Linked DNA regions of Homo sapiens: regions 1, 3, 4 and 5 are each linked to region 2. Evidence: promoter capture Hi-C in 16 types of primary human blood cells and fetal thymus (Javierre and others, 2016). All regions are on one chromosome and are shown on one strand. The core of a region is centred on a gene start or on the middle of the fragment in contact, and the rest is flanking DNA. Distances in the headings are between cores, read along the strand shown. Region 1 overlaps LOC124902986 (a long non-coding RNA gene). Region 2 holds the start of SOCS2-AS1 (SOCS2 antisense RNA 1). Region 3 overlaps CEP83 (centrosomal protein 83). Region 4 overlaps LOC102724960 (a long non-coding RNA gene). Region 5 has its middle 62 kb from the start of PLXNC1.

Region 1 (5,029 bases), core at 2,461-4,960, 550 kb before region 2:
ATAAACAAAATTAAGTCTGCCAGAAGTCTGAAAATTGTCACTGTGCTATTATTGATGAAATTACTAATTCCAATAATAATCGTGGCCATTATTGCATAGTGACTTGTGCAGTTTCTTCATCTGTGAAATAGGGACATGAATAGACCCTCCATCCTTGGGTGGTTATGAGGATTAAATGAGTTAATGCACATAACACACTTCCAGTAGCACCTGGCACATGAGAAGTGTTAGTTATGCCAGGTGTGGTGCTGAGTGCTTCTCGTACTTTACTAGTGGAAATAACAAAGAAGCCAGGATGAAGCGAAACCTTAGGAGCTGGGAAAAAGGAGAAGGGTCGAAACTTATGTTCTAGAGTTTTCATGTCTTAGTCTTTGTATGATTGTTGCTGCTGCCTGGCGCAACCTTCCGCAGGCTGGCTCCCTCTCATCCTGCAGGTCTCAGCTTAAAAGCCCAGCTCAGACATGCTTTCCCTCACTCACAGTCGAAAGTTGCGTCCCCTATATTATTCCCTCTTTCCACACAGTGTTTCTCTTTAGAACACTTAACACTGTGTGTAATTGCATAGGAATAGTTTATCTAGCTAGTGAATTCTCCAACACTAGCCTGTTCACTCCACGAAGGCTAGTTGTGTTTACTGATTATCCTCGATTCCTAGCAAATTGCCTGGCACATACCAAATGCTTAATGAATGAAATGAAACTGTACCTGTTGTAAAAAATGAATGAATAAAAGTATACCTGTTGTAAACAAATGGAATAAATGAATGTATCAGGGTTCCCATTATACCCAAGGTCACTTCCAGGCAGCATGGCATCCTCTTGCTCTACAAGATACTTCTCTTTTGAAAACACATCAGCACTTAGAAAAGTGACCCTACTCCAAACTTTGTAATTTAACACTGGATCCTCTGATAGCTTCTTCCAGGATCCTAAAGTTTGTGTGTCCCATCTCCAGAGAATGTTCAGCCACTCCTACATCACTATATACTTCCTGATTTTCATCAGGCTTACAGAGACAGGGGTGAGAAAGTAGGGTAAAGTTACTCTGATAGTAGCTGAGATATGAAAGTGGAGGAAGGGAAACTATAGAATTTGAGAATTCACTGCCCTTTTACTAAGAAACACTTCTTTTTTTTTTTGAAACTTCTAGGGTGGCAGGAAGTGCATGCCCAAACCTCAGAGTCTGGGGCAATCAACAGTACCCTAACCTCCCTGAACAGGTTCAGACACCCAGGGCTGGGTATAGGAATAGCCCAGATGTTTTTAAAGTTAAGACCTGAAGTGGAGAAAAGGAAAAAATGAAGAAAGAGCTCCAGCTCCACAGGGGATGTCCTGGGATTAGTAGGGACAACACAAACAGAGCTCAGGGAAGGAAGACAGAGAGAAAGGGGAGGGGAAGTTTTTTGTTTTCAAAGTGTAATGTAGAAAAAAAAATAGCTCTGGCTGGGCGTGGTGGCTCATGCCTGTAATCCCAGCACTTTGGGAGGCCGAGGCGGGTGGATCACTTGAGGTCAGAAGTTCGAGACCAGCCTGGCCAACATGGTGAAATCACATCTCTACTAAAAATATAAAAATTAGCCAGGTGTGGAGGTAGGTGTCTGTAATCCCAGCTACTCCTGAGGCTGAGGCATGAGAATCGCTTGAACCCGGGAGGTGGAGGATGCAGTGAGCCGAGATCGCGCCACTGCACTCCAGCCTGGGCGACAGAGTGAGACTCCACCTCCAAAAAAAAAAAAAAAACTCAAAAAAAACAAAAAACAAAAAACAAAAAACAAAAAAACCCCACAAAACTCCTCACCTTAAACTGACCAAGAAGAAGCCAGACTACTACTTCCACTTTTATGTTGTGGCTGGCAGACCACAAGGAGCCTGCTCTGGAGAGGGCGGAGAGGGAAAGCCCAGCTGCTGCTCACTCAGCCCCTTTTTGACAGAAGACTTGTCCCCAGATCAGGGATGACCAGGGAAGAGATCAGTGGACAGGGTAAATCCACAGCCATTTGATGTAGGGACATTTTAATTTGGGAAATCAAATGCAGGAAAGATATTACCTTACTGTTCATTTCAAGCATCTCACACACACCATTAAATGCCCCAAACCAGGCTACTATTGAACCTTAACCACATACAAATGACATATTTACCCAAATACCCCAACATGCTAACAATCCTTTCTGGGTTGCATGTAGCCCAAACTGCCCCTGTGTGTGAATTACAAAAGGCACACTCCCACCCCTTCTTCAAGACACTTGGCTTACTTCTGTTGGAAAATTGTTGTCATGGGCTGATTTATTAGAATAAGACACATGACTATCATCTGCCAGAAAACTATCATAATAAATATACAAACTAACTGTGTTTACTATCAATGATGGTCCTTTAGATGTGGTGCCCTTGTGCAGAAGTCAGTTTGAAATAGAGAAGTTTGAAATAGTTGTATCAAGGCCATCAAAAGCTTAACTTCCTTGTCCCAGTATCCTTATTAATGCTTTGCAAAATCATGATCCTTAATGCATTTCTCGTCTTGCTATGGTCAACTTGTGATACACTGAATGAATAAAATAGAGCGAACAGAAATGAAGGATCTGTTTGTCAGATCGGTTAAACCAGGAAGTTTCAAAAGAAAGGATTGTTAGCATGTTAGAGTATTTGGGTAAATACGTAATTTGTATGTGGTTAAGGTTCAATAGTAGCCTAGTTTGGGGCATTTAATGGTGTGTGTGAGATGCTTGAAATGAACAGTAAGGTAATATCTTTCCTGCATTTGATTTCCCAAATTAAAACGTCCCTACATCGAATGGCTGTGGATTTACCCTGAGCATCAGCTCTGAGGTTGGGAATAGACGACCTGTGTACTTCTGCCTCCTGATCATGCCTGGGGCGTTCTAATCTCATGGTCTAAAGGTCTCAAAACAGGTAAAACAGAAATGAATGTTCTCAAATTCGTGGGGGTATCTCACCAGTTATTTTGGAAATAAATATAGCTGCATGCAGACAAGCTTCCATTTGTCCAGAAGTACCTAACTAAGTGGAAGCTGCCCACACTATTACACTGGAGTTAAAGTATTCTGAGCTCCACCCACTCTCTACCCATTTTTAGCATAGTGTGATGGAGGCAAGCAGACCACGAGAACCCAGTGGAAATGTCACCAAGTGACCAGATCGCAGGCCTGTTTGCAGGTGGTGTCTGACTGCTGGTCACCAGATCCCTCCCACCATAAATACAAAAGTTCCTTGTCAAAATTCTTTCACACAAGTTCTTATGCTTTAAACTCACAAAAGTAGGACAGGGCTCCTATCTCTCCATTTTACAGAATGGGAAACAGGCTCAGAGAGGCCAGTGTGTAGGAAAGTCAGGAACCAGAATATGGGTCTCTTGATTCTTTGGTCCAACATTCCATGAGTCTCAGTTTTTAGCACTGAGATCATGTGGGGGAACTTTGAAAAATGTGGATGCCCAGGCTCAATCCCAGCTCCTCAAGAGATAGAACCTGGAATGTGTATTTTTCTTTCTTTCTTTTTTTTTTTGAGATGGAGTCTCACTCTTGTCGCCCAGGCTGGAGTGCAGTGGCGTGATCTTGATTCATTGCAACCTCCACTTCCCAGGTTCAAGCAATTCTCCTACCTTAGCCTCCCAAGTAGCTGAGATTACAGGTGCCCACCACCACAACTGGCTAGTTTTTGTATTTTTAGTAGAGACGGGGTTTCACCATGTTGGCCAGGCTGGTCTGTAACTCCTAACCTCAAGTGATCACCTGCCTGGGCCTCCCAAAGTGCTGGGATTACAGGCGTGAGCCACCGCACCCAGCCTGGAATGTGTATTTTCTTTAAAGTGCCATGAGGGCTAGGCGTGGTGGCTCATGCCTATGAGACCAGCACTTTGGGAGGCTGAGGCAGGAGGATCACTTGAGCCCAGGAGTTCGACACCAGCCTGGGCAAGATGATGAAACCCTGTCTCCACCAAGGAAAAAAAAAAAAAAAAAAAGGGTGGGCATGGTGGTCCACGCCTGTAGTCCCAGCTACTCAAGAGGCTGAGGTGGGAGGACTGCTTGAACCCAGGAGGTGGAAGTTGCAGTGAACCACTGCACTCCAGGCTGGGCGACAGAGTGAGACCCTGTCTCAAAATTAATTAATTTAATTACATTAAAATAAAGTGCCATGAATTCAGATATACAGCCAAAATTTGGACCCCTTAGTCTGACACGTGCTTAATTGGAGGATCCAGAAAAATAATAAATAAATAAATAAATAAATCGGAGGATCCAGAAAAATAATAAATAATTGGAGGATCCAGAAAAATAATAAAATAAAAAAATCAGAGGATCCAGAAAAATAATAAAATTAAAAAAATCTGACATGCTTAATCAGAGGATCCAGAAAAATGATATGAAAACAAATTTAACTGAAGCATAAGGAAAAAAAAGCTTGGCTTGTTCAGTTTAGAACATCCATTAGAGTAATACCATGGTGTTGTATATTGTATTAAATAAGAAGACACCTCTGAATTGTGCAAAGAGCAGAGATCCTATGAGAAGGAAATTCGTTGATAAGATCCCTACAAATACAGTTAGAATGCAAGAACGATCAGGATGGCCCATTAGAGCTCTGGAAGACAGATACTGCTTAAATTCCCTAACACATTCCAGCTTCCACAATGCTAGGAAATAATATGCTGTGCACTGTGTACAAAATGACTCCCTGCAGGCCTGAAAGAAAAGAGCCTTGTTGGAGACATGGCCAGTCTATTGGGGGTGATTATGGTCTGCTCTCTTCTTCTGTCATGTTTCTTCTCTAATCAGGGCTGACTCAAATATTCCAAGAGAAGTTAGGAGTCAGAACACCTGGTGCTGGTCCCAGCTCTATCATTATCTGCAATGTGATTCTCTTAGCTAAGCTGACTTTGGTTTTCTAATTTTTAAAATGAGAAGCCTAATTGTTGTTCCGGTCACTTTACATGCAGGATGCATTGTGATGATGTATCCATACACATATACAAGCAGAGTATAGCACATTATTATGATTACTTTGAATAG
Region 2 (5,278 bases), core at 1,170-3,669:
GAGGGAAAGCCCGTGGCCCACACGGAAAGACCGGAATCGCAAGCGAGAGAACTTTTCCCTCTCCCTCCCCCTGTTGCTACCAAAATTTCAACTGTGCCACAACTGTAAGCTTTTAGGATACGGATTTGGAAAGCCAGAATGATTTGCCAGATACTTTACTTTTTTTCTTTTTTCTTTTTTCAGATGCCTAGAGACAGCGTGCCGCGCGAATTGCCTGACTGTACTTGAAAGCGGCAGTACCCTGGGCGCGCCGACCATGGAAGCCGCGCTCGGCGGGGGCTTCGCAGCCTACTCTCGACGCCCGGGCAGCCGCCCTCGCGGCAGTGTCAGTCCCTGAACTTGGCCGCCAAGATCCTGGGCTGCAGCCGCAGCTCCGCCCGGGAGCCAGATGCTGCTGGGCCTGCGGGGCCCGCGGCACCGACTTGCTGATTGCACCCCGTGCAAAGGGAGGCGCCCGACGCTTTCCCCGGCCGGGGTTCGAGCCCGGGAGCCTAACCCTGAGCAGCTGCGGAAAACAGTAAATCTTCCAGCGTGCTAAGAAGCTATTTCCAAGAAGCTCTTCCCGCGCTCTGCGCTCCGCCAGGCCTGAGTCCCTGGAGAACCACTTTCCTTACGCATTCCCAAGGACCCAGGACCCTGCGAGCGTGCTCTCCGCGGTCCCTTGGAAGCAAGGGACGTATTTCCATCTTATTCTTTGCTTCCCACCTCGACCCCGCTTCCTAGCTGCTTCCTTGGGGAGGCGCTCCCTCCCGCACGCGTCGCGGCCGATCGGCTCCCTACCTGTCTGACCGAGCTCCCGCAGGGCCTTCGCCAGACGCGCCGCCTGCGGGGATGGCTCCTCCGCCGACCCCGCGGTCCCCCACTGGCTCCGCGTCCCTTCCCCGCCATTCCCGGAGGGCTCAAGGCACCGCAGGGTCATGAGAGAAGGGTCACCGCGGCAAAGACAGGTGGCCGCCCGAGCTGGGGTCAGAGAAGGGTTCGCGTCCTTCCTTGAAGTCAGTGCGAATCCCAAAACGAGTCCCTGCGGGGTGTCCGAAATGGTGGCAGAGAGAGAAGGGATGGGGCTCTTTCTCCCCAGATCCTGGAGGACGGATGACAAAGTCCCTCGCAGCCGCGGTCACCCACTGATCGCCTACAAAGAGAAAGCGGGAGGTTGGGTCAGTCCAAACTGGACCCCTGCGGCTGGGGTGGGGGTGGGGAAATAGACGTGGAAAATCCCAGGGACTCCTCCGCCTCTACGTTCCTGCACCATTTAACCCCAAGCTTCCAGTTAGCGCCCTGGCCCAGCTCTAGAGAAAAGATAAAGAGAGCAGAGATCCAAGATAAAGTTGGCTGAAGAGGTGGGGGGCGGAGGTCAGGAGGAGGGTGAACAGGGTGTCTTCCCGCCCAGGGTCACTAGCTGAAATCAAAGACTGGCGACCTAGGAAGAGCAAATAGTCACCTGCAGATCCAGTGGGAATAGGCCCTTGTCAAGGACAAGTAGAAAAAATTAAAAAGGAAAGAACAGGAGAGATTCCCCAAATTGGCATTCCGGTCTCACACCTGGCGCAGCCCGAGGGCCCCCAGGAAGAAGCACCCACACAAACTTGGTTCTCCGCCCTAAAGCGCTGCGGGGCCCCGAGGCACCAACCCGGGGTGCGGAGGTGCGGGAGCTGCCGCATCTCCGCCCGGGAGGCTCCTCGCTCCCCTCCCCCCGCTTCCTGGTGCCCGCTCTGGCGGGGTTGGGGGTGCCGCGGCGGTCGCTCCCGGACCAGGATGGCTGCGGTGGTTCTCGCCGCCGCGGGCGCTGTCGAGGAATCGGCCCGAGCGCGCAGCCCTCGCGGGGCTCCGAGGCGAGGCCGGGGCCGAGCGGGCGGTCGCGAGCGCTGCGGAAAATGCAAACCACCAACGCCGCGCTCTTACCTCGACCTCGGCCGCGGCCGCCGCCGCCGCCTCCGCACCAGGCAGCCTCCTCAGCGGACATGGGGCGGGGGGGTGGGGGGAAAAGGGGAGGTGGGAGGGGCCCGGGAGAGGAGGGGCGTCTGCCCTTGTTTCCCCCGTTAACGTTTAATTTGGGAACGAGATGCCCGGGGATGCAACCAGCCCCGCGCTCGGAGGCGGCGGTCGGAGTTCCGTGCGCAGAGGGCACACAAAAGCCTCGAGGATCATTGCCTCGACCCCATCCCCCACCGCGCGGCGACGCCCCCTACGGGCTGGGACACCTCCACTCTCGGACTGCTGCCGGGTTTCCCTCCGGCTGCGACCCTGGAGGTGGGAAGGAGAGAGGGAGGGAGGGAGGAAGGAGCGAGGGCGGGAGGCAGGCCGGTGGGGAGGAGCGGGAGATCAGGTTATTAGGAGGATTATTAATTTGAATGGCAGTTTAGGGGAAATAAAAAAAAGAAACTCCAGACACTTCCAGACGCCGAGAAGGGGCTGGAGAAAGCAGGCAGCAACGCTAGGCCGCGGGGCAGAGCCGCGGTTCGGACTCTCTCTTCCCCGGCGCTCCGAGCTGCGGAAGCCCAGGCCGTCCGCCGCTCCCCGGCGCACGCGGCCGCGCCTCGCCGCCCTCCCCGGTAACTCTCCTCGGGGCGGAGCCTTCGGGCTTCCCCCACTACCGGTACCTGCCGCGGGCGCCCGAGCTGCGGGCACGGGGTATCCTGAGGCTGTGCACCCGGGACCCCGGCGCGCACTGTCCGCGGGCCACGCGGTGAGGGTGGCTGCGGGCGAGAGGGCTCATGCTTCAGGGGAAGCCCAAGGCCCGCCAGCCGCGGCGGCTGCGACGAGACTTGGCAAGAGTTAAACGTCGGTCCCAGGAGCAGCGAGTGCGCGCGACTTCCCAGACCGACGCGCCTCCCTTGCTCCCCGCCTCCCTCCCCAGTCAGCGCTCCGCTCGCGCCCCGCCCGGCTGCTGCGGAGGCGGCTTTCCAGGAACTTTCCAGGAATCGGCCTCACGTGACCGCGGGCCCCGCTACTGCTTTAAAGAGGCTCGGTCGCAATACACAGGCTTCAGGGAAGACCGGGTGAGAGCGCTCGGGTGCAGGGCGGGCGGTGTGCACGCCGGGGTCGGCCTGCCTCTGGCCCCACACCCCGGGGTGCTCGGGCGCAAGCTAGAGATCTCCCCGGCCACCGGCTACAGCCAACCCCGTTTCGGCGGCCGGAGCCTGCCCCCTACCCGGGCCAGCTGAGCGCCCGGGTTCAGGGAAGGATAGCGATCCTTGGCCCTTGGCCTGCCACGGGGGTGGGTTCCTCTAAACATCCCGGCGGCGCCCCCTCGATGCGACCCTCCTGGCCGCACTTTTGCGGGGGGTGGGCGTGCAGGAGCGACTGTGGGTCCTCGGAAACCAGACTCTCCGGCTCTAAGACACATCGATGGCGTGGGGACGCCGTGCTCGTCCCGGTGCCCACGGCCGGGGACCGGAGGCGGTCCCCTTGATCAGGTCCTGGAAGGCAGCGAGCGGGAGAGCAGCGCCTCCTTAAGCGGCGCCGGCCGTCCTTAGTCCCCTCCCCCTGGCGCTCCGGCTCCTTGTCACCCGCACCCACCCGGCTCCTCCCTTCCTCCTCCCCTCTGCTCCAACGTCTCCGGTAGACCCGGCGGCCCGCCCGGGTCACCTGCGCCGGCTGCTAAGGGGGCGCCCTTACCTGCGCGCCCGGAAGGGGCTTGGTGACTGGCCTCGGTTCCCTCAGTCCGGAGAGTGTCTCTGCCATTCCCTGCAGGGCTGACGCCCCAGGGCTGGGATTCGGAAGGATCTCGGCACCTCTACCCTACCTGGGATTCTCACCTCCAACCCCGTTGGAGGCCCCCTGGCCTTAGTGGAAACTCATCTCCTTGTCTGCGCACCCGCCCCCGAAATATGACCTACTTGAAATGTGACCTACTTTTTAAAAGAAACCCTTAACAATCACGGGAAAACCGGATCCAAAATTTCGATAAGCATTTTTCTTTGAAATACTATTCTATTGCATCACTGCTCGAAAGCTTGAAAGGTCAATGGCCACTTTTAGTTGAGGCCGCGGCTATGGGAAGTTGGGCGAGGAAGGGGGAGGGGTGGGAGGGAGGCGCGTCTTGCAAACTTTGCCTGGTGCCCCCCCTGCCGGCTCTGGGAGGAAACGGGAACCAGCTCCCAACCTTGGGGTCTGCAGCCGGGGACCAATGGTTTTCTCAATAATTTTCCTGCTTTTGAGTACATAATTCTATGCAGATGATAAGCAGATGAGTCGGGGAGGGGGGCATTTCCCAGCTAACAAAGAGCTTTGTTAACGCTGGAGCCGTGTGCCCTTAATCATGTTTCGTTTTTTAGAAAGAGCCTTTTATAGTGTGGGCGGAGCTAACTGAACCCTAGTTAAAATCCTCTACAAAGTAGTTGAATAATTTTGCACAAGGCACTTACCCTCTTTGGACCTCTGGCCCTTTTTATAACATGAAGGGCTAGATTCGGGTTCTGGGTGAGGGACTGGGATAAAGGAACAAATCAGATTCCATGTGAAGCCTGTGTACAGTCTGAGGCCCCAAGCCTTTTAAGAACCACTATGTCTACTAGGGTTAACTGCCCTCTAAATTGTCCTAATATGGCTTCTTATTCCTTGATGGAGAATCCTAGAGGAAGGGTGTACCCACACTTTAGCTTAAATAAAAAGGTATTTATTCCTAAAACTGACGGAGGGCGGGGAGGGAGCATGACCAAGTCTCCCTCTGTCGCCCAGGCTGGAGTGCAGGGCGTGATCTCAGCTCACTGCAACCTCCGCCTCCCAGGTTCAAGCAATTCTCCTGCCTCAGCCTCCCGAGAAGCTGGGATTACAGGCGCCCACCACCACGCCCGGCTAGTTTTTGTATTTTTAGTAGAGACGGGGTTTCGCCCTGTTGGTCAGGCTGGTCTCGAACTCCTGGGTTCAACCGATCCTCCTGCCTCGGCCTCTCAAAGTGCCGGGTTTACAGGCGTGAGCCACCCCTCCTGGCCCTAACATTTTTATACAGTAAGTTTAATATTTACTTGATAGTGGGTTGAAATGAATCTTCCAGCAACTCCTTTTTTATGTGCTTTCCTGTTGCCTTGGTGCATGCTGTTCCCTCTTCCTAGAATGCTCCAACCCTGATGGCTGCATCATACTTGATTAAAAGAATCCTGGCCGGGCGCGGTGGCTCACGCCTGTAATCCCAGCACTTTGGGAGGTTGAGGCGGGTGGATCACTTGAGGTCAGGAGTTCAAGACCAGCCTGGCCAACATGGTGAAACACCGTCTTTACTAAAAATACAAAAATTAGCCGGGTGTGGTGGTGCATGCCTGTAATCCCAGCTACTAGG
Region 3 (5,353 bases), core at 379-2,878, 890 kb before region 2:
TACTCACCTTTTGTATTGAGGTTTGATTTCAAACTCAGTTTGTTCAGAATTGTTAGAATGCTTTATTTATTTATTTATGACTGAGTCTCACTCTGTCGCCCAGGCTGGAGTGCAGTAGCGCGATCTCGGCTCACTGCAACCTCCGCCTCCTGGGTTCAAGCGATTCTCCTGCCTCAGCCTCCCGAGTAGCTGGGATTACAGGTGCGTGCCACCATGCCCGGCTAATTTTTTTATTTTAGTAGAGATGGGGTTTCACCATGTTGGCCAGGCTGGTCTCAAACTCCCGACCTCAGGTGATCCGCCCACCTCGGCCTCCCAAAGTGCTGGGATTACAGGTGTGAGCCACCGCACCAGGCCAGAATGCTTTAAATTATAAGTGTCACACAGGACTCTCCTGAGAGTTGCAAATGGTTTTGAGTTGTCCTTTGGTTATTTAGGACAGAGTATGCTGGGTATTCCCCTTACTTTGAGTGTTTTCTTTCCAGATCAGATGAAGTGCGCGGACTGTATTTAGAACATTCTCAAATAATAGTGAAATACAATTTAGAATTCCATGCAGCACTGGGAGAATGAAACACTGATTATTCACAGGTAGTTTTTTTTTTTTTCTTTTTTTGAGACAGAGTTTCATTCTTGTCGCTCAGGCTGGAGTGCAGTGGTGGGATCTCAGCTCACTGCAACTTCCGCCTCCCAGTTTCAAGTGATTCTCTCCTCTCAGCCTCCCGAGTAGCTGGGGTTACAGGTGCATGCCACCATGCCCTGCTAATTTTTGTATTTTTAGTAGAGATGGGGTTTCACCATATTGCCCAGGCTGGTCACGAACTCCTGACTTCAGGCGATCTGCCCACCTTGACCTCCCAAAGTGCTGGGATTACAGGTGTGAGCCAGCGTGCCTGGCCTATTCACAGGTAGTTTTTAATCCTTGGTTTACCAGTCACCTCACTGTCTCCTCTTATTGAACCCTTAATGATAAAATTTTTATGGCAAGTTGTTAGTTTTTAGAGCACTTTTTGAATGATCTTTTCAATCAATAACCTTTCAAGTAAGCAAGTATGTGAGAAAATTTGAGACATGATGAGACTAAATGACTTCTTTGAAATCTATTAATAATGGGAATTGGAACTTGAAGTTTAATGTTCTTTATGTCAGATACCCTTATGTATTGCTAAAATCCATGGACTTAATTTTAGTTCTCTCCTCCTTTTTTCTATATGCTGATGTTGAAGTAATGAAATATTCAAAAGTTGGGCAAGATGGAGGAGACAAATCAAGAATGACTCGTATAATCCTTAGTAATCAGAAATCAGCATTATGTCATGGGATGTTCTAATTCAAGAAGCTTAGAGTGAAATCTTAACAGAAAGATTAGTGAATTTTAGTGAATTGTCAGAATTTCCCCACCCCCAGGTACTGTCTCTTTGCCTAAAAGTAGATGAGCTTGCTTTTAATTTTGTCATACATATTAGGTTCCATAAGTAAATTGCCCACATTGTTTAACCTATGTGCTTTTAGGGAATGTGTGTAAATCTGTGTAAAAAACTTCCTTTTAACCCAAGTTCATGTTTCTTGACTTAAGGTGAATTATTTGAAATCCTCTCACCTTGCCTTTTCAAGTGTATGTTCTTTATGGAAAAGGTGTCTCTGCCCAGATTGGTTTCTTCACTATCCCCTAAACCTGCTCTGTACTTTATCCTTTCCATATTAGTCTGCATATCTTTCTATCCCCCGTGACCTGATCTTATTCCCTTCTTTCTTAAAATCTAAATTGTACCTTTTCTATAAGGTTCAACTCCACCATGACCTCATACATACATACATAGGAATAGTATGTATTTGTGAGTTAAATTTATTTGATACTTATACTTTTTATTGTATTATTTTAGCTTTCTTGACTTCCTAACTAGATTGTAAGCTTATTAAGGGCAGGACTTCAGATCTCGATGAGCTGTATCCTTAGTCTTTTCCAAATACAAGTTGCTGAATAAATGTTTCTTAAAGATGACTGATATGATTAGGCTTTGTGTCCCCACCCAAATCTCACCTTGAATTATAATCCCCATAATCCCCATGTGTCAGGGAAGAGACCAGGTGGAGGGAATTGGATCATGGCGGCGGTTTCCCCCATACTGTTCCTCGTGACAGTGAGTTCTCATGAGATCTGGTGGTTTTATAAGTGTTTGGTAGTTCCTCCTGCATTCATTCTCCTTCCTGCTACCTTGTGAAGAAGGTGCCTTGCTTCCCCTTCACCTTCTGCCATGATTGTAAGTTTTCTGACGCCTCTCCAGCCATGTGGAACTGTGAATCAATTAAACCTCTTTCCTTTATAAATTACCCAATCTCAGGCAGTTCTTTATAGCAATATGAAAATGGACTAATACAATGACAGATAGGCATTTCTACTTTCCCCCACTTTTGTAAGTATCATGAAAGTAAGGTTGTTGAGAGAAGAGAGTAAGTGAAGGGGAAATGGCAACAGTAAACTATAAAAAAGATTGAAGAGTGGGAATTCACGGAATCAGAAATAAAGATTCTGTTCCTAGAAAGTGAGTATTTGAGAATTTCCCATGGCAATACCAGCAGTAAGGACTCTCAGGAATGCTGGCACTATTCTTCAGTGGGCTTGGGGAGTTTGGTCAATTTCCTGGTTCCTAGTAGAATATCAGTTTATTAATTATATTTTTTTCATCAGGACTGCCCTCTCTAGGTCATGGAGAGATCACTGACTGTCAAGTCTAGTACTATTTCTTTTTTCTTTTTTTTTTTTTTGAGATGGAGTTTTGCTCTGTCGCCCAGGCTGGAGCGTAGTGGTGCAATCTTTGTTCACTGCAACCTTGAACTCGTGGGTTCACGTGATTCTCCTGCCTCAGCCTCCCAAGTGGCTGGGGCTAACAGGTGCATGCCACCACACCTGGCTTTTTTTTTGTATTTTGAATAGAGACAGGGTTTCACCACATTGGCCAGGCTGGTCTCGGAACTCCTGGCCTCAAGTGATTCACCCACCTTGGCCTCCCAAAGTGCTGGGATTGTAGGTGTGAGCCAATGCGCCCGGCCTACTATTTCTTTTAACTGAGCTATAATCCAGGATGGAAGAAATTAAGGAAATGCCCAGTTATTTGCCTTCTGTATATTGTGACTTCAGATTGCTTTTGGATTAAAATTCAGAGTTAGTAGGAACCTAAACCTGGCCATTCCCTTTTGGAAAGCACCTATCTTCTGTCTCAAAATATGTCTATAAAATGTCCATGTAGTTTTTACAGTCTCACCAAAAATCCTGTATCTAATGCTTATAACAAAGAGTTACTTCAGTTGAAGATATAGAAAGTGAAGTTGAGTCTCAGAATGCTTTCATAAATATTCGTTTGATTCAGTTACTTCTTGAGTGAATTTGCCATTCTAGCTTCTGAGTTGTTGCCCAGTAACACAATTGCAGTATAATATAGCAACCCTTGAAAACAGTAGCATTGGACTATAGGGATTTTCCTGATGAAGTTGCATTGCCTATCTCTGATGTTCATATTCAGCCTCTCTCAAGTGTGATTGCATTTTGTTTTAAGGCAGCTATTTCAGATATTGTTAAACTTAAGGGGCATGCAATATATGCTCTTAAGGATATTTTTTAGAGTACTGATGAATTATAACTTCTTTCACATTGTTTTCCACATAGAGATGCATGATAATGTGTCCGGAATTGGTTCATTCTGGTGGGTTCTTGGTCTCGCTGACTTCAAGAATGAAGCTGCGGACCCTCGTGGTGAATGTTGCAGTTCTTAAAGATGGTGTGTCCGGAGTTTGTTCCTTCAGATGTTCAGATGTGTCCGGAGTTTCTTCCTTCTGGTGGGTTCATGGTCTTGCTGACTTCAGGAGTGAGGCTGCAGACTTTTGCAGTGAGTGCTACAGCTCTTAAAGGTGGCGCGTCCGGAGTTGTTCATTCCTCCCGGTGGGTTCGTGGTATTGCTGGCTTCAGGAGTGAAGCTGCAGACTTTCGCAGTGAGTGTTACAGCTCTTAAAGGTGGCGCGTCCGGCATTGTTCATTCCTCCCGGTGGGTTCGTGGTCTCGCTGGCTTCAGGAGTGAAGCTGCGGACCTTCGTGGTGAGTGTTACAGCTCATAAAGGCAGTGTGGACCCAAAGAGTGAGCAGCAGCAAGATTTATTGCGAAGAGCAAAAGAACAGAGCTTCCACGGCATGGAAGGGGACCCGTGTGGGTTGCTGCTGCTGGCTCAGGTGCCTAGCTCTTCTTCCCTTATTTGGCCCCACCCACATCCTGCTAATTGGTCCATTTTACAGAGAGCTGATTGGTCCATTTTACAGAGTGCTGATTGGTCCGTTTTTACAGAGTGCTGATTGGTGCGTTTACAAACCTTTAGTTAGACACAGAGCGCTGATTGGTGCATTTGCAATCCTTTAGCTAGACAGAAAAGTTCTCCAAGTCCACACCGGACCCAGAATCCCAGCTGGCTTCATGTCTCAATAAGTATGTATTGAATTATTTTTTGTGTGAAGGACACGTGAAAATACTGGTTCAATTAAAGATTATTCTGGGCAGAAAAAGTATTATGTAATAACAGACTTCTCTACAACTGATATAGCCAGCCAGAGCTGGAGTGGATGAAGTTGAAATGGTTCTTTATAACATTTTTGTATTACTTCTAGAGCTTCATAGAAAGCTGAGATCACTAAGCACAATTTAATAGGTACTCTAATTTTTTTTTTTTTTTTTGAGACATAGTCTTACTCTGTCAGCAGGCTAGAGTGCAGTGGTGTGATCTCAGCTCACTGCAACCTCTGCCTCCTGGGTTCAAGCGATTCTCCTGCCTTAGCCTCCCAAGTAGCTGGGACTACAGGCACATGCAACCATGCCCAGCTAATTTTTTGATTTTTAAGAGAGACGGAATTTCACTATGTTAGCCAGGATGGTCTTGATCTCCTGACCTTATGACCCACCTGCCTTGGCCTCCCAAAGTGCTGGGATTACAGGTGTGAGCCACTGCGCCCGGCCTAGGCACTGTAATTTTGTGGGAAGAGAATTGTGATTCAGGAGACCAAGGCTTGACTGGGTGAGTCACTTCACCTTTCATGGCCTATTTTCTCATTTGAAAACATAAATCTCTGAAAGTTTCCTTCAGAAATGGTATGCTTCCAATTTAAAGCAAATTTTATTTCTCTTATATATGGGTTTAATCAATATTTGAGTGCCTATTATGTGTCTCATGCTATGCTAGGCACTGGGGAGATTGTGAATAAGACATAGTGCTAAGTCTCAAGCACCTTATTCTCTGATGGGAGAAATGGACAAAGTAATTAGTAATTTGTAATAAAGCATGTTAAATGCTATAAGGATAGATAAGAATGTGT
Region 4 (4,933 bases), core at 2,412-4,911, 960 kb before region 2:
TTGGCAGCTCTGAGTTCCTCCTGGAGGCTCTGGGGGAGGATCTCTTCCTCGCCTTTTCCAGCGTTCAAGGCCACCTTCATCCTCAGTGCGTGGTGTTTCCCTCCAATCCCTTCTCCTCATCACATCTCCGCCTCTCCTGCCTCCCTCTTCCCTTTGTTAGGACCCCCATGATCCAGTGGGCCCACCGGGGTAATCGAGGATAATCCCCCCATCTTAAGATTCTTAATTTAGTCGCATCTGTTAGGCCCTTTTCCCATGCAAGGTCACATATTTGCAGGTTCTGGGAACCGGGACATGGACACCTTTGGGGGTTCATTATTTTGTTTCTCCTGCCACGCCTCTGAGGCAGGATTCTGACTCAACCTCCTGGGCTAAAACCTAGGAATATTCATCTGAAACAACTCTCCTTCCGATTGGGAGGCAGGGGCTCCTGGAGCCTGGAGGGAAAGGCTGCGCCACACCCGCTGCAGTTGGAGGTGTCTCTTCTCGAGAAAGTGACTAGCAGGGCAAGTCACTATCCCATTTTATAAGATAGGAAACTCAAGGGAATGGTGAATTTCTAGAGAACAGTGAGAACAGTGAATTTCTAGTCCAAGGTTCCACAGCTAGAGCTGAAATTAATTAATTAATTAATTTATTTATTGTACTTACTTATGTATTTATTTTGAGAGGGAGTCTGTCACCCAGGCTGGAGGGCAGTGGCACGATCATGGCTCACCACAACTTCTGCCTCCCAGGCTCAAGTGATCCTCCCACCTCAGCCTCCTGAGTCGCTGGGACTACAGGCAGGCACCACCACGCCCACCTAATTTTGTATTTTTTGTAGAGATGAGGTCTCACTGTGTTGTCCAGGCTGGTCTCAAACTCCTGGGCTCAAGCGATCCTCCTGCCTCAGCCTCCCAAAGTGCTGGGATTATAGTGTGAGCCACTGCATCTGGCCTGGAGCCAGAGTTTAGACCCAAATCCCCTATTTCCACACCCTCTGTTCTTTTTACTACAGCACAGTCACCACCTAAATTCTCCCTCTATTGTGTAAACACAGTATGGTGGGGACTGCCCCCCTCATCTCACAGACAAAGATACCGTGGCACAGAAGGGGTCCAGCCACCTGCCCAAGGCCTGCTGCCTGGCTTCTGGCCGAAGCGCCACTGACCCGGGAAGCCCTGGACAGATCAGGCATCTCCTTCACTTTCTCCCATGGAGATTTTATCCCTACTCATCTGCTGAGAAACACTTTTTAACACAGAATGAGATTGATGTGGTAGACTCATTTCAAATACACGGAGCAGAAACAAACTCGGAGCCTTTTGGTGGATTATCTGTGTGGAGCAGACTGATGGCAATTAGGGGTTTGGGGAGACGGCAGGTGGGGGTGACAGGCTCTTCTATCCCTGTCCCATGAGGAAACCTAACAAAGGAGACCCTCCTCGCCGGTGCGCAAGTGTGTGAGTCAGCGCCAGGGGGCAGAGTTTGTCCAGGAATGAGAATGCACACGCCACTGTGCTTTGGCTTAAGGGTGATGTTAAGAAGGACGAGATTCTGGTGTGCAGGGTCATTGCCTTTAGTACAACCTTAGCCAATAGGTTTCTAATTGGGCCATTTATCTGGAAATAAGTGTGACATAAGAGCCCTGGAGGGTGGGTTGAGAGCAGATGCAAAGTGACTAAAGAGCATGCCACGAATGCATTTTTATAGGGTCAATTGTCTCATAATCTTTGTGTTCTCTTTTGGTGTGAATTAAATTCTGACCACTACTTGGCAATTTGTCAGAAGGCAGTCAGCTTAAGTATTGAGAAACACTGAATAATATTTCAAGAGTTTTCTAGTACATGGCCTCTGCAGCTGGAAAACATTAAAAAAAAGTTCACTTGTTTTTTCTTTTTTTCTTTATTATTCTTATTTATTTATTTATTTATTTATTTATTTTTTTGAGGTGGAGTCTCGCTCTGTCGCCCAGGCTGGAGTGCAGTGGCACGATCTTGACTCACTGCAAGCTTCGCCTCCCGGGTTCACGCCATTCTCCTGCCTCAGCCTCCTGAGTAGCTGGGACTACAGGCGCCTGCCACCACGCCCAGCTAATTTTTTGTATTTTTAGTAGAACCGGGTTTCACCGTGTTAGCCAGGATGGTCTCGATCTCCTGACCTTGTGATCCACCTGCCTCGGCCTCCCAAAGTGCTGGGATTACAGGCGTGAGCCACTGCACCTGGCCTTATTTATTTATTTTTTTGAGAGGGAGTCTCACTCTGTTGCCCAGGCTGGGTGGAGTGCAGTGGCGCAAACTCGGCTCACTGCAACCTCTGCCTCCTGGGTTCAAACGATTCTCCTGCCTCAGCCTCCCCAGTAGCTGGGACTACAGGAGCACACCACCTCACCTTGCTCATTTTTGTATTTTTAGTAGAGACAGGGTTTTATCATGTTGGCCAGGCTTGTCTCCAACTCCTGACCTCAGGTGATCCACCCCCCTTGGCCTCCCAAAGTGCTGAGATTACAGGTGTGAGCCACTGTGCTCAGCCTTATTATTATTATTTTTGAGACAGGGTCTTGCTCTGTTGCCCAGGCAGGAGTGCAGTGGCACGATCATAACTCACTGCAGGCTCCCACCTCAGCCTCCCCAGTAACGAGGACTACAGGTGCACACCACCACACTTGGCTAATTTTTTTTCTTTTTTTTTTTTTTTTTGGTAGAGACAGGGTCTCACTATGTTTCCCAGGCTGGTCTTGAACTCCTTGGATCAAGCAACTTTCTGGCCCCAGCCTCCCAAGCATTGGGATTATAGGTGTGAGCCACTGCACCCAGCCAATTTATTTTCTATTTTATTTTTAATTTTTTGCAAATTAATGTGATTATGCACACACAGTAGCTGTAGAAGCTTCTCCTCACATCTGCCCCCATGCCGTCCCAGCCCCTGAGTGGGACAGTCCCCACAGAGGTGGAGGCAACAGAGCACACTGGGTACGTTGCTTGGGAATTAACCCCAACGACACACAATTCAACCATCTGCGAGGCAGCGACATTTGGACAGATTTGAATTATCAGTAGCCTGAGGATGCTCTCTTTTTTAGAACAATAACTACCATTCATGAGAACTCCTTAGGCACCAGACACTGGGGCTTCCCTTGTAGAATCTCATCTAGGCAATAAAACGATTCTGTAAAGTAGATGCTATTATTATTATCCATATTTTACAGTTGAGGAAACTGAAACTATGAGGGGCTAAGAAAGTTGTTCAAAATTACCCAGCTAGGTGAGCTGGGCATAGTGGCTCACACCTGTAATCCCAGCACTTTGAGAGGCTGAGGCAGGCAGATCACTTGAGGCCAGGAGTTCGAGATCAGCCTAGGCAACATGGTGAAACCCTGTCTCTACTAAAAATACAAAAATTAGCTGGGTATGGTGGTGCATACCTATAATCCCAGCTATTCGGGAGGCTGAGGCAGGAGAATCGCTTGAACCTGCGAGGCAGTGGTTGCAGTGAGCTGAGATCGAGCCACTACACTCCAGCCTGGGCAACAGAGTGAGACTCTCTCTCTCACACAACAACAACAGCAACAACAACATTTACCCAGCTAGGAAGTGGTTCAACCAGGCCTCAGACAGAGCCATCTGACCCCAAAGCCCAGGGACTTAGCTCCTGTTTTCCTAGAAGCCTAAGCAATCCTAGCCCAATGGAAAAAAACCTGCTCATAGATTCTGACACTTTACATTCTAATTTGAACATGGTGCTGATTTGGTGGGTGGCCTTAGAGAGGTGACTTCATATCTCGATTGAATCTTAAGATCTTAGGGTGAGACAAATGCTTCATAACTCAACTGGCCGGAGTACATATAATATGACTTCTATGTTGGGGACATTTGGATCATCAAGAGCCCACACTAGTATGTGGAGTCAGGGGCCATCGACAGCTCTGAGATCTATAGGAAGCTGGCACTGGGGTCAGAAGGAAGTTTCTATAAAATGGAAATGTAATGGGATGATGTGAGGTATGAGTAGAATTATTCTCTCAAGCTCCTGGTTGCTAAAAGGTACAAAGAATGTATCAGTCTGCCCACAGGCTCAGGTTTTGGAGCTGGGGACTTGGCAGAGGATGGTCACGTGTTGGGCAAAGAGAAGTAGGCATTGGAGAGATGTTGCACGAGGCCATCAGCTGGGGTCAGCTGGAAGAGGAAGGCCACATGTCCCAAGGGACCCCTGGGAGCTGCTTGGGCATTTAGTGCCAGGGCAAGTCTTGGGGACCACTTGCTAAGCCATGGAGACCAACAATTCTGCCATAGGCAATCACAAAAGAACATATTCAACTTTCTCTTTTCTTCCTTTTCCCCCAAAGCTACAGGGGAAAGCACAGGCAAGAATCGGGTGGGAGAGAAGTAGACCATGTCTCCACCCCGCCACTCCCAAATCTTTTAAAGCCATGAGTCTAGTCTGCACTAGAGGCGAGGAGGAAAGCTTTGAATCCAATATAAGAATGAAATTTTACATTGAACAGAGTTGAATCTTAATAACTGGAGAGAAACTGTTGTGATAACTAAAATGAAAAGTTGTAGAATCAGACTGGGATATATGTAGCTAATGGAGCCTGCTACCCAGTGGGAAAGAGAGGTTCCACAGAGCATAATTGATTGATTTTATTGGGGTAAAAAAATTACTTCATGTTTATCTTCCCAGAGAATTGACAATCTTTACTAAACCTGTTACTCAAAGGTGAATCAATAAATATATGTTCTGCCACGGGTGAAAGACTACAAGCCTGCCTTTTTACACTGCACAGTTAGTTCCTATGTGTGTGGGATGATCACATGGTTCTTTGGGACTTCAGTCTTGCAGAAGTGTCTTGGGTACCTCAGATAATGGTGGGGAAAGCCAAGAGTTTCTCTTTTCATCAAATTTGTAATTGTAGTTCGTTCTTCTGCTCCCACACAAGTATTGGGTTAGA
Region 5 (5,376 bases), core at 2,621-5,120, 510 kb before region 2:
GGTTAGCAGCCTAGGAGCAAGAGGTGATGCCTTACAGCCAGCCTAAGTGTGTAGTAGCTGTACCATCTAGATTTGTGTGAGTACACTCTATGAGGTTTGCACATGAGGAAATCGCCTAACAATGCATTTTTTTCACAATGTATCCTGTTGTTAAGCCATGTAGGACTGTAGTTATTTCTTATATCAGTCCTGGAACAGGATAGAGTCACATTTTAAATACCATACTTTGTTGAATTGAAGACATCGTTGATAATAGATATATCATTATTTTATGTATCAGTAAGAAAAGGAAAACACTGCCAAATACATGATGACTTTCCATAGGCTATAAAATTCATTCTAAATTAAAAGATGTTAAAATGACAAAAGGGCACATTATAATATCAGTGATATATGGTGGTAACCATTCAATGAATACATTTCTGTAGGGACATAAAATAATATACTATAGAATGTAAGCTCTCTGGTGACATAAGAACATGGATAGAATTTAAAGAATGTTCATTTGAGTTGTTAGCTAACTGGGTAAGGATATATAGTACCATAGAAGAAAAAATCCCTGAGAATCTCATACATAGTTCTGTGATCAAACTGTCTGAAGTAGCTTTCTGGAGTCTGAGTTGATATGATTTCACCAGCTATGCTTCCTGAGTCCAGTGGATACATATGAGGCCCCTGTGAGACACAGGTTGGTGAGGGGCCCTGGAGCATTGTACTGGGTGATATTGTGATTTTCCCCCTAATTTGGGTGAAATCTTAGGTCACATAACCTATTTCTCTAAAAACAATGTCTGTTGCATCTCACAAGATTTTGAGAAAATCAAATAAATTAGTCGCTTTTTAAAAAGCATGCTAGAGAGGCAAGTGGGAAGGAAAATCAACTGCTCATATACAAAATAATAACACAACAACAGTGAACATCAATGAGTGCTTTCTCTGTGTCAAGTGTGCTTTAAAGGTGACGGCATGTACTGTTGGTAGCCAACAAATAGCTATTCTTCTTTTTTTTTTTTAAATTTAATATTATTATACCTCAAGTTTTAGGGTACACGTGCACAACTTGCAGGTTTGTTACATGTGTATACATGTGCCATGTTGGTGTGCTGCACCCATTAACTCATCATTTAGCATTAGGTATATCTCCTAATGCTATCCCTCCCCTCTCCCCCCACCCCACAACAGTCCCCAGTGTGTGATGTTCCCCTTCCTGTGTCCATGTGTTCTCATTGTTCAATTCCCACCTATGAGTGAGAACATGCGGTGTTTGGTTTTTTGTCCTTGCGATAGTTTGCTGAGAATGATGGTTTCCAGCTTCATCCATGTCCCTACAAAGGACATGAACTCATCATTTTTTATGGCTGCATAGTATTCCATGGTGTATATGTGCCACATTTTCTTAATCCAGTCTATCGTTGTTGGACATTTGGGTTGGTTCCAAGTCTTTGCTAACAAATAGCTATTCTTTGCTTCCTTCTTCCTGGCTAGCAGAGCCTGCTTCCCAAAGAAAGGAGCTAAATTTCAGATAGTCATTGTCCTATCTTTCTGTTCATCTGGAGTAGTAGTTCTCCAAGTGTAAAGATACCTAGGGGTCCCTGAGACACTTTCATAAGTTTTCAAGGTCAAAGTTATTTTCAAAATTTTATATATTCAGTGGGGAATATCTATATCTAATGAAATATACATATATAATTATTTCAAGATATTATTTGCCTTTTTTACTGCATAGTCATTTGCACTGATGTTGGAAAAGCGATGGCGGGAAAAACTGCTGGTGGCTCAGCACAAATCCTGACACCAAACTGTAGTCACTGTATTCCTCACAACCACAGAATACAAGAAAGCATTTTACTGAGATGCCCTTGGTGCAGTAAAAGTTAATTTTGTTACATCTCAACCCTTGATTTGGAAAGTACACATAAAGCATTTCTTTCTTTCTTTCTGTTTTTTTTTTTTTGAGATGGAGTCTCACTCTGTCACCCAGGCTGGAGTGTAGTGGTGCGATCTTGGCTCACTGTGACCTCCACCTCCCAGGTTCAGGCGATTCTCCTGCATCAGCCTCCCAAGTAGCTGGGACTACAGGTGTGCACCACCATGCCCAGCTAATTTTTGTATTTTTAGTAGAGACAGGGTTTCACCATGTTGGCCAGGATGGTCTCGATCTCCTGACCTTATGATCCGCCCACCTCGGCCTCCCAAAGTGCTGGGATTACAGGCGTGAGCCACCACGCCTGGCCCACATAAAGCATTTCTCCTGCATAGGCTATGATGGTTGTCTTGCAGAAAAGCACTTATGCGATTGTTTGAGTTGCCAGCTAAATTAGCTGTTTGGTTTTTTTTCACAGAACATTATTTTTGCTTGAAATAAAAACTGACAGACAAATTATAGTTATTCAAGTTTGGGTATTTGATAGAAATGGTCTCAGAAAATGAAATGAGTTTTTCCAGTGAAGGAAAACAATATGACAATATGAGTTAATCGTGTCAAGGAAGATAATATTTGATGCCAATGATAAAATTCAAGCTTTCAAAGGAAATTAGAATGAAATTGGTGGTGATATTTTGGAAGGTGATATTTTTATATTATATATTGAAATGTGTCAACATCTGGAAGGTCTGCACAACTCATTAAAACAATATTTTCCAAATGACCAGTGCATAATGTTACAAAATTTGAAAAAGTAATTGAGTATGAAACATTCATTGATGTTTTCAGATTTCATATGGCAATTTACCTTTTTTTTTTTTTTTTTTTTTTTTTTGGAGAGGGAGTTTCCCTCTTGTTGCCCAGGCTGGAGTGCAATGGCACAATCTCAGCTCACCACAACATCCGCCTCCTGGTTCCAAGCAATTCTCCTGCCTCAGCCTCCTGAGTAGCTGGGATTACAGCCATGTGCCACCACACCCAGCTAATTTTGTATTTTTAGTAGAGATGGGGTTTCTCCATGTTGGTCAGGCTAGTCTCAAACTCCTGACCTCAGGTAATCTGCCCACCTTGGCCTCCCAAAGTGCTGGGATTACAGGTGTGAGCCACCGTGCCCAGCTGGCAATTTTCCTTTAAGAAACTACAACTTGTCAAGTTTTGGTATAATCTACAGCAGAATCTTCACCATGATCTGAAAAGGCTGTTAATATACTCTTCCCTTTCCAATTACTCATCTGTGTGTAGTGGAACAAAAAACTAGAGAAACAGAACCAATTCTATATATATAGTCATCTCTTGGTATCTGTGTGGGATTGGTTCCAGGATCTCCCTTGGATACCAAAATCTGCAGTTGCTCAAGTCCCTGATATAAAATGGCATAGTATTTGCCATCTTCCCTATGCACATCCTCCTGTATACTTTAAATCATCTTTGGATTACTTATAATACCTAATACAATGTAAATGCTACATAAATAGTTGTTTTATTTAGGGAATAAGGACAGGAAACAAAAGTCTATACATGTTCAGTACAGATGCATTTTTTTCTCAAATATTTTTGATCTGTGGTTGGTTGAATCCATGGATGCAGAATCCATGGACATAGACGGCCAGCTGTATATATATACGTGCATATATGAAGAGATTTAGTATAGGAATTGGCTCATGCAGTTATGGAGGCCAAGGAGTCCCATGATCTGCAAGTTAGAGAACCAGGGAAGTTGGTGGTGTAATTCAGCCCAAAGCTGAAGACCTGAGAATGAAGGGCAATGGTGCCAGTCCCTGATGTGGTTTGGCTGTGTCCCCACCCAAATCTCATGTTGAATTGTAATTCCCAGTGTTGGAGGAAGGGCCTGGTGTGAGGTGATTGAATGATGGAGGCACACTCTCCACTTGCTGTTCTCAAGATAGTGAGTGAATTCTCACGCAATCTGGTTGTTTAAAAGTGTGTAGCACCTCCCGCTTTGCTCTCTTCCTCCTTCTCTGGCCGTGTAAGACGTGCCTGCTTCCCTTTCCCCTTCTGCCATGATTGTAAGTTTTCTGAGGCTTCCCCAGCTATGCTTCCTGTATAGCTTGTGGAACTGTCAGTCAATTAAGCCTCCTTTCTTTATAAATTACCCCGTCTTAGGTCTTTATAGCAAGATGAGAATGGACTAATAAAGTTTCAGTCCAAATCTGAAAGCCCAAGAACCAGAAGGGCCAATGTCTTAGGGCAGAAGATGGATGTCTCAGCCCAATCAGGAGAGTGGATTTACCTTTCCTCCCCAATTTGTTCTGCTGGATCATGCCCACCCACGTTGGGGAGGGCCATCTGCTTTATTCAGTTCACCAATGCAAATGTTAGTCCCTTCTGGAAACACCCTCACAGACACACACAGAATCGTATTTTACCAGTTATCTGGGCATCCGTAAGCCCAGGCAAGTTTGACATATAAAATTAACCATCTCAGCATCTCAGAGGTCATACTGGGTCAGGGTGGACCCTAAACCCAATGACTAACGTCTTTTTTTTTTTTTTGAGACAAAGTCTCACTCTTGTCCCCCAGGCTGGAGTGCAATGGTGCAATCTCAGCTCACTGCAACATCCACCTCCTGGGTTCAAGCAATTCTCCTGCCTCAGCCTCCCAAGTAGCTGGGATTACAGGCGCTTGCTACCATGCCTGGCTAATTTTTGTATTTTTAGTAGAGACAGGGTTTCACCATGTTGGCTAGGCTCGTATCGAACTCCTGACCTCAGGTGATCCACCTGCCTCAACCTCCCATCGTGCTGGGATTACAGGCATGAGCCACTGCACCTGGCCAACTGATGTCTTTATAAGAGACAGAGAGTAGGATACAGAAACGTGGAGCCACAAGGAAGAAGACTATGTGAAGATAAAGGCAGAGATTGGAGTGATGCAACTACAAATTGAGGAATGCCAAAGGTGGCTAGGAGCCAGCAGAAACCAGGGGGAGACAAAGTAGGGTCCTCCCTGAGAGACTTGGAAGGGAGCATGGCCTTGCTGACCCCTTGATTTCAGAATTCTAGCCCTCAGAACTGTGAGAGAATGAATTTCCATCGTTTTAAGTTAACTGGTTTGTAGTACTTGGTTATGGAAGCCCCAGGAAATGAATAGAGGGTTCAACAGATAATCTTCATGGTAATTAAGGTTAGGAAAATAAGTTTCCTGAGAATCTAAAACAAGAGAAAAAAACACTTCCTGCCCTTGAGTCCAAGCCTAAAATGCTTTCACAAAGTAAAATAAGCAGCTATTTTCTATGCCTAATTTGGAAAGAATGAGAAGTTCCAGGAAGCTTTCCAGTGGGAAGCTGGTTCTCGTCCCTGTTAGCTATTGGGCATCTTCACAATCTAGGCCTGTAGTTTTCTCAAATGTTATATAAGGTGGTTGGACCAGATGAGCTATAAGATGCCATTTAGTTCTAAGCCTACATTGCTCTTATTGGCCTATTTATAGT

What was found. Contacts are between HindIII fragments. The CHiCAGO score rates a contact against its expected background, and 5 or more counts as called.
Region 1: a fragment that was not itself captured here is called in contact with the fragment with the promoter of SOCS2-AS1 in region 2 in 15 of 17 cell types (fetal thymus, M2 macrophages, non-activated CD4 T cells and 12 more); the score reaches 13.8 in fetal thymus.
Region 3: a contact is called between a fragment that was not itself captured here and the fragment with the promoter of SOCS2-AS1 in region 2, in 5 of 17 cell types (fetal thymus, naive CD4 T cells, non-activated CD4 T cells and 2 more). The highest score is 8.4, in fetal thymus.
Region 4: a fragment that was not itself captured here is called in contact with the fragment with the promoter of SOCS2-AS1 in region 2 in 3 of 17 cell types (M0 macrophages, M2 macrophages and M1 macrophages); the score reaches 7.1 in M0 macrophages.
Region 5: a fragment that was not itself captured here is called in contact with the fragment with the promoter of SOCS2-AS1 in region 2 in 15 of 17 cell types (M0 macrophages, megakaryocytes, non-activated CD4 T cells and 12 more); the score reaches 11.1 in M0 macrophages.

What each region holds. Positions count from the first base shown.
Region 1 is chr12:94,120,182-94,125,210 of GRCh38, reverse strand. The region is part of intron 1 of LOC124902986 (a long non-coding RNA gene); the gene reads right to left. Among named protein-coding and RNA genes, the nearest start is that of PLXNC1, 26 kb to the left of the region's middle. The HindIII fragment of the contact is 1,425 bases long and covers 2,998-4,422 here.
Region 2 is chr12:93,568,539-93,573,816 of GRCh38, reverse strand. SOCS2-AS1 (SOCS2 antisense RNA 1) reads left to right here and starts at 2,419. Exons shown (of 4, transcript NR_038263.1): 1 at 2,419-2,552. It overlaps SOCS2 (suppressor of cytokine signaling 2), which reads right to left and starts at 1,142. Exons shown (of 2, transcript NM_001270471.2): 1 at 781-1,142. The coding sequence starts at 919. RefSeq lists an enhancer at 339-478 and silencers at 1,696-2,005, 2,016-2,065, 2,426-2,705, 3,076-3,265, 3,326-3,375. The HindIII fragment of the contact is 2,692 bases long and covers 1,266-3,957 here.
Region 3 is chr12:94,453,461-94,458,813 of GRCh38, reverse strand. The region is part of intron 1 of CEP83 (centrosomal protein 83); the gene reads left to right. Among named protein-coding and RNA genes, the nearest start is that of CEP83, 3.7 kb to the left of the region's middle. RefSeq lists a silencer at 2,870-3,019. The HindIII fragment of the contact is 573 bases long and covers 1,342-1,914 here.
Region 4 is chr12:94,529,524-94,534,456 of GRCh38, reverse strand. The region is part of intron 2 of LOC102724960 (a long non-coding RNA gene); the gene reads right to left. Among named protein-coding and RNA genes, the nearest start is that of MIR5700, 30 kb to the left of the region's middle. The HindIII fragment of the contact is 1,575 bases long and covers 2,874-4,448 here.
Region 5 is chr12:94,083,909-94,089,284 of GRCh38, reverse strand. No RefSeq gene overlaps it. Among named protein-coding and RNA genes, the nearest start is that of PLXNC1, 62 kb to the left of the region's middle. The HindIII fragment of the contact is 2,693 bases long and covers 2,524-5,216 here.